Regions from separate parts of the Homo sapiens genome. Here region 1 is linked to region 2. Evidence: promoter capture Hi-C in 16 types of primary human blood cells and fetal thymus (Javierre and others, 2016). All regions are on one chromosome and are shown on one strand. Each heading gives the region's core, a stretch centred on a gene start or on the middle of the fragment in contact. The rest is flanking DNA. Distances are from core to core; before and after follow the strand shown. Region 1 overlaps ELMOD3 (ELMO domain containing 3). Region 2 holds the start of GGCX (gamma-glutamyl carboxylase).

Evidence for each region. Contacts are between HindIII fragments. The CHiCAGO score rates a contact against its expected background, and 5 or more counts as called.
Region 1: a fragment that was not itself captured here is called in contact with the fragment with the promoter of GGCX in region 2 in 2 of 17 cell types (total B cells and erythroblasts); the score reaches 6.5 in total B cells.

The regions. Positions count from the first base shown.
Region 1 is chr2:85,383,570-85,387,129 of GRCh38, reverse strand. All of the region lies in intron 11 of ELMOD3 (ELMO domain containing 3), which reads right to left. Among named protein-coding and RNA genes, the nearest start is that of CAPG, 25 kb to the left of the region's middle. The HindIII fragment of the contact is 6,667 bases long and covers 1-3,560 here.
Region 2 is chr2:85,559,145-85,563,000 of GRCh38, reverse strand. It overlaps GGCX (gamma-glutamyl carboxylase), which reads left to right and starts at 1,508. Exons shown (of 15, transcript NM_000821.7): 1 at 1,508-1,615; 2 at 2,016-2,186. The coding sequence starts at 1,573. RefSeq lists an enhancer at 1,305-1,534. The HindIII fragment of the contact is 2,007 bases long and covers 156-2,162 here.

The DNA.
Region 1 (3,560 bases), core at 176-2,675, 180 kb after region 2:
TAATATCATCCCTTCCCTTGATTTCTTTCAATCTAAAAATAAATATGAGAAAAACAGTATGGTAACAACATTATTAACAGAGGACCTGAACTTAGTGTTCATCCATTCTCAGGAACATTCTTTTTTTGAGACGGAGTTTCGCTCTTGTTGCTCAGGCTGGAGTGCAATGGCACGATCTCGGCTCCCACAACCTCTGCCTCCCAGGTTCAAGCGATTCTCCTGCCTTAGCCTCCCGAGTAGCTGGGATTACAGGCATGCACCACCATGCCTGGCTAATTTTGTATTTTTAGTAGAGACAAGGTTTCTCCATGTTGATCTGTTGATCAGGCTGGTCTCGACCTCCCGACCTCAGGTGATCTGCTTGTCTCGGCCTTCCAAAGTGCTGGGATTACAGGCGTGAGCCACCACACCCAGCCCGGGAACATTCTTAAAAAGCCCACTGATTGGCCAGGCATGGTGGCTCACTCCTGTAATCCCAGCATTTTTGGAGGCCGAGGTGGGCACATCACTTGAGGTCAGGAGTTCAAGACTAGCCTGACCAACATGGTGAAACGCTGTCTCTCCTAAAAACGCAAAAATTAGCTAGGTGTACTGGTGGGCACTTGTAATCCCAGCTACTTGGGAGGCTCAGGCAGAAGAATCGCTTGAACTCAGGAGGCAGAGGTTGCAGTGAGTTGAGATTGTGCCATGCATTCTAGCCTGGCAACAGAGCGAGACTCCATCTCAAAAAAAAAAAAAAAAAAAAAAAGCCTACGTATCAAAAAATGGTAAAAATTGGATTTCAGATCTAAATGTCTCCTTTCCTTCAGCAGTTCCCTCAGACCTAAAAAGCATTGTTTAGAGCTAAAATACTGCACTGAAACTGACTAAAACACAGCAGAGGAACTCAGACCTGGACATTTTTCTGCTTCCATTTACAATTTCATTTATCCTCATGCCTCACGTTTGGGCTTAGAAACCTTTGTCTGCTGAAGCAGGAAGACCAGAGTATCTTCTGCGGCTGCTGCTGACCTGGCCCCAACCCTGAAGATTCCAACTGAGTGGTTCTGATGGGGAGAGTCTAAGCATCTGCACTCCCACTGCTATGTGACTTTTCAGGGTGTGCTGCTGGCTGGGAATCAATGCTGTACAGAGCCCACCGCCAGGCCAGCTGTCAGGAAACAGGGGCTCTAGGCCCAGCTTCACCACTTAGGAGCTATGGCTTTGTTCAGAAACATTGTGACTCTCTTACCCACACATTCCTCTGCTGGAAGGGGAGATTGACAAACCAGCATCATCTCTAATTTACTACAAAAGCCCTCACTGGAAATTATTCTTAACTTAGCAGCTGGTAGGATCCATTAAAAAAAAAAAGTAAGTTAGACTGTGTTACTCTGCTGCTCAAAGCCCTGCAGTGCCTCCTCATTTTACCTAGCGTAAAACCTAGAGTCCTTTCCATGGCCTGCTAGGCCCTGCGCCCTCTGGCCCATCATCTACGACCACCTCTCCTACTGCCCTTCCTGTCAGGCCTCTGGGCCCAAACCTGTACGTATAAATCCAGATGGCCTGAAGTAACTGAAGAATGACAAAAGAAGTGAAAATGGCCTGTTCCTGCCTTAGCTGATGACATTACCTTGTAAAATTCCTTCTCCTGGCTCATCCTGGCTCAAAAGCTCCCCAACTGAGCACTGTGACCCCCACCCCTGCCAGCCAGAGAACAACCCCCTTTGACTGTAATTTTCCACTACCTAACCAAATCCTATAAAATGGCCCCACCCCTATCTCCCTTCGCTGACTCTTTTCGGACTCAGCCCGCCTGCACCCAGGTGAAATAAACAGCCTTGTTGCTCACACAAAGCCTGTTTGGTGGTCTCTTCATACAGACATGAGTGAAACTTCCTGTGTTCTTTTCACTCCGGTGGCTTCCCTACTACTCATTACCTATGCTAGACACACTCCTTTCTTGAGACCTTAGTTCTAGCTAATCCCTCTGCCTGGTATGTTCTTCTCCCAGATATCAGCTTGGCTAACATTCCCACCTCCAAGGTTTGGTTTAAGTCTCACTCTCTCATGACAGCTACCCTGACCACCCTATAAAAATACTGTAACTGTCTCTCCACATTCTCTCAACTCTATCCTATTTATTTTTCCTTAGTACTTATTACCTTCTAGAGCACTCTATAATGTATTGATATATTGAGCTTATGGTCATCTCTGCTGGAAGAATCTTTGTTTTATTTACTGATGTATCCCAAGTACCAAGAAGAATAGCACCAAGGGATGCTGAAAAAATATTCATTCAGTGAATGAATGAATCCTAGGTCCCATGAATATGGGATAGACAGATGGCAGGAAACAGGTCAAATTTGTTTTCTAAAATGGAGAGACTATTAAAAAAATAAAATTAGCTGGGCATGGTACGGCACACCTGTAGTCCCAGCCGAGGCTGAGGTGGGAGGATTGCTTGAGCCTGGGAGGTAGAGGTTGCAGTGAGTTGTGATTGTGCCACTGCATTCCAGCCTGGGTGACAGGGTGAGACTGTTTTAAAAAATAAAAATAAAATGGAGGGATTGCTACCTTTTGCTACTTGAGAAAACCATAAAACCCAACCCCAGAGGGCAGGTCCAGACAGAGACAGAGGAGCTACTGAAGCACCTCTGGCCTGTTGGTAAGTCTGTGGCTCACATAACCCATGGAGGTCCATCTCCTCCTCTTGGGCCCGTGGAGGCTAACTCTTCTCTTTCAGGGCCAAGAGATGCTACCCCTGTGCAAGGCATTTCCTCAGGGAGGGCAGAGAGTTGAAACAGCAACAGCACAGCTGTGCTTGCTACTTTTGTACATTGTCTCTAATTTTCCCAATGAGCCAGCTGAAGTTTCTATTGTGAAAACAAAATATCTTGGGTTCCCCAAATCACTAAGCTAAAGGGAAATGTCAAGCTGGAAACTGCTTAGGGCAAACCTGCCTCCCACTCTATTCAAAGTTACCCCTCTGCTCACTGAGATAAACGCATATCTGATTGCCTCCTTTGGAAAGGCTAATCAGATGCTCAAAGAACACAACCATTTGTCCCTTATCTACCTATGACCTGGAAACCCCCTCCCTGCTTTCAGTCATCCCGCTTTTGCTTCCAGTCCTCCCACCTTTCCGGAGGAACCAATGCTCATCTTACATGTGTTAATTGATGTCTCATATCTCCCTAAAACTGTAAAACCAAGCTGTGCTCTGATGAACTTAGGCACATGTCATCAGCACCTCCTGAGGCTGTGTCACAGGTGCGCATTCCCAACCTTGGAAAAACAAACTTTCTAAATTAACTGAGACCTGTCTCAGATTTTCAGGGTTCACATTTTGGTAACCACAGAGGGATTCTGAGTGGAGGTACCCCTGGCCTTTGACAAATCTCCTATCCATGCTTGGTACCAGCATGAGCTAACTTTATGGCTCAAAACAACAGAACAATTTGCTGAGGTCTGGGAGTACACCCTCCAGAGAATCCCTGATCTCCCCAAATTTGTTCAAGATCTTTGGCTGGGCGTGGTGGCTCACACCTATAATCCCAACACTTTGGGAGGCCAAGGCG
Region 2 (3,856 bases), core at 259-2,758:
CCGTGTTAGCCAGGATGGTCTCGATCTCCTGACCTCGTGATCCACTCGCCTCGTCCTCCCAAAGTGCTGGGATTACAGGCGTGAGCCACCGCGCCCGGCCAAAAAAATTTCTAATACGGCAAATATTGAAAGATATAATCCACATAAACAAAGCTTTTAGGGTCTTCTATAATTTCTAACACTGTAAATGGTTCCCAAGACCCAACTGTTTGAGAACCGCTTCTCTGGGATGCCTTCTTCTTTTCCTGCTGGCTAATCCCAGTGGAGAGATTTAGGTATTTAATTCTGCTCCAGACTCACCTCTGAGAACCTTCCCTGATGGGCCACACTCTACTCACTGCCCTTGCTCTGTATCCCCTCTTCAGTTATGTTGTTCCTGTTTCCCTGGCTGCTTTTAATTTTCTTTCTTTCTTTTCTTCCCGCCTTTTCTTTTCTTTCTCTTTCTTTTTCGTTTTTTGTTTTTTGAGACGGAGTCTCACTCTGTCGCCCAGGCTGGAGTGCAGTAGCGCGATCTTGGCTCACTGCAACCTCCGCCTCCTAGGTTCAAGCGATTCTCCTGCCTCAGCCTCCCGAGTAGCTGGGATTACAGGCGCACGCCACCATGCCCGGATTATTTTTGTATTTTTAGTACAGACGGGGTTTCACCATGTTGGCCAGGCTGGTCTTTAACTCCTGACTTCAAGTGATCCGCCCGCCTTGGCCTCTCAAAGTGCTGGGATTACAGGCTTGCTGCCGCACCCGGCTTGTTTTTTTTTTTTTTTTTTTTTGAGACGGGGTCTCACTGTGTCCCCCAGGCTGGAGTGCAGTGGTGCGATCACAGCTCCCTGCAGCCTCGAACTACTGGGCTCAAGCGAACCTCCCACCTCAGCCTCCCGAGTAGCTGAAACCACAGGAGCGCGCCACGACACACAGCTAACTTTTTTTTTAGTGTTTTTTCTTTTTTTGTTGTTGCCTTTTTTTTTTTTCTTTATCGATCCTCCCGCATTGGCCTTCCAAACTGTTGGGATTACAAGCGAGAGCAGTGCCCGGCCCCTACTGCTTTGAAACCTCGGTTCTTTGCAGGTCCTGGAAAAGAAAGTGAAGGGGTCGTGCAATGGCTCAAAACCCAGGCAACATTTCCAGGCGCGTCCTCAACTCGGCGTCACTCTGACAAAAAGTTTGCCCTTTGCGCCCGATCCCTCACACCAGAGAGCACCGCAGGGACGCAGGGACGGAGAGGACTAATGGGGTCGGGGAGGACCCAAGGAAGTTGGGGAACTCAGACTCTTTTCAGTGTTTAAAAAGCAGAGGCCCCCTCGGAAGGCATAACAGGCGAGTCTAACAATGCCCCTGGAGATCAACGGCACTAAGGGGTACCTTTGCCCCGCTCCAAGGCTCCTTGTTCCGCCCCCTGCCGCCAAGCAAGGAATCCGGCGCCGCCGGTCGTGGGTAGTATTTACGACAGTGCTGGCGCTTTGCGGCCGGCCGCACAGCCGCTGACGCGTCGGGAGGCGGAGCCTAGGGAAGCAAATTCTCCTGGCGGCCTCCGTTCAGACGCGGCAGCTGTGACCCACCTGCCTCCTCCGCAGAGCAATGGCGGTGTCTGCCGGGTCCGCGCGGACCTCGCCCAGCTCAGGTAGGCTTAGGACCCCGCCCTCCGGCGGAGAGTTCCTAGGAGCGCTGGTCTCAGAGGGGCGGGGGCGGGAGGACGCCCAGTGTCTCCCGGTGAGGCGGGGGGGGGGTCCTCTGTGGGGAAGGGGGCGTGCTGTGAGACATTTGCAGCCTGCGGCTTCTGAATGATGATGACATTCGGGAACACTGCGGTTAGGGGACTGTAGTCTGAGGGGTTCTGGGACATTAGGGGATCGTGGAGAGGGGGCTGCACTGCAGGGATGTTTCCTATAGTCAGATCATTGAGGCAACCTCATTGAGCCGACCCGGGTGGGCGGAAGCTCTGAGCTGTTGGTGCAGTGATTTCTTTGATTTGAGGTGGAGCCCACCCCCGCACACATATTTTCTCCATTTATTGATTGCAGATAAAGTACAGAAAGACAAGGCTGAACTGATCTCAGGGCCCAGGCAGGACAGCCGAATAGGGAAACTCTTGGGTTTTGAGTGGACAGATTTGTCCAGTTGGCGGAGGCTGGTGACCCTGCTGAATCGACCAACGGACCCTGCAAGCTTAGCTGTCTTTCGTTTTCTTTTTGGTGAGTCCAGTTTATGGGTGGGAGCAATTTGGTTGAGAGTGGAGAATGACAATCTCTATTTTTTGGTTGCAAGTAGACTTAGCTCCCTTTTCCTCAGAGCTGAAGACATTGGTATAAAAGAAGAGGTCTTTGCGAAGTTTAGGATTAAACCTGCTTTGTCTCCTACAGTTAGGATTTACTTGGTGGCCAGAAATGCTTTTTTTTTTTTCCTTAGACGGACTTTCGCTCTTGTTGCCCAAGCTGGAGTGCAATGGCGCTATCTCGGCTCACTGTAACCTCCGCCACCCGGGTTAAAGCGATTCTCCTCCCTCAGTCTCCCGAGTAGCTGGGATTACAGGCGCCCACCACCACACCCGGCTAATTTTTTATTTTTTTTGTATGTGTGTTTTTAGTAGAGACGGGGTTTCACCATGTTGGCCAGGCTGGTCTCAAACTCCTGACCTCAGGTGATCCGCCTGCCTCGGCCTCCCAAAGTGCTGGGATTACAGGTGTGAGCCACCGTACCCAGCTAGAAATGCTATATGATATGTAGAGGCGAGGCAGCAGTGACCCATTTTGCTTGTGGCATGAAGTTGCCCAGAAGACTCAGAGAAACAGAGCAGGGGGCCACAGGGACCATACCTTTTGGCTGTGACTCCCTAATCAAGAGCTTCTTAACTGAGGCCGCAGCATGGTGTGCTTGGAATGGTTTACAGATGTGCAGAGATATTAGTCCCCTTAGCCCAGTAGTTCTCAACTGGAGGGAGTTTTGCTCCCTGGGAGACATTTGGCAATGTTTAGAGACATTTTTAGTTGTCACAACTTGGGGGAGGAAGAATAGGTGGCTGCTGGCATCTCTATAGAGGTCAGGGAGTGCTCCTAAATGTCCTGTAGTGCATTGGATAATCCCCTCAATAAATAATTAACCAGCCCAAAATGTGACTAGTCCTGAAGTTGAGAAACCCTGCTTTATCTCAAGCTGGCTTCCTGATCTGAGTAGCCTCTTCTGTTTATTCCCAGGGTGTTGACGAAATGCAACTGTTTTTGGAGTGTGCCAGGAAGCAGAAAAGGTTGAGAAGCACTCCCAGAGCACTTTCTTTCTTTCTTTCTTTCTTTTTTTGAGACGGAGTTTCGATCTTGTTGCCCAGGCTGGAGTGCAATGGTGTGATCTCGGCTCACTGCAACCTCCGCCTCCCAGGTTCAAGTGATTCTCCTGCTTCAGCTTCCCGAGTAGCTGGGATTACAGGCATGCGCCACCACACCTGGCTAATTTTTTTGTATTTTAAGTAGAGACGGGGTTTTTCCATGTTGGTCAGGCTGGTTTCGAACTCCCAACCTCAGGTGATCTGCCCACCTCAGCCTCCTAAAGTGCTGGGATTACAGGCGTGAGCCACCGTGCCTGGCCTCCCAGAGCACTTTCTGAAGCTCAATAGGATGGATCTTTATAGCTGTCAAGACCCTAACAGTTTTTATAGCATTTTGTGCATTTCTGTAATTTAATCCTCTCTGTAGTCCTGTGATGTATTCCCCTTCTCACAAATGGGGAATTGGTTAACCGAGCTGCAGGGGCTGTTCTAGATGGCACAACAGATGTAGTACTGTGCAGAGTAGGCACTCAATAATTAATACTGAATAAATGGCAGAGCCAAGATTAGAAAAGAAGTCTGACCCTGGAGCTGCACACTGTCAAC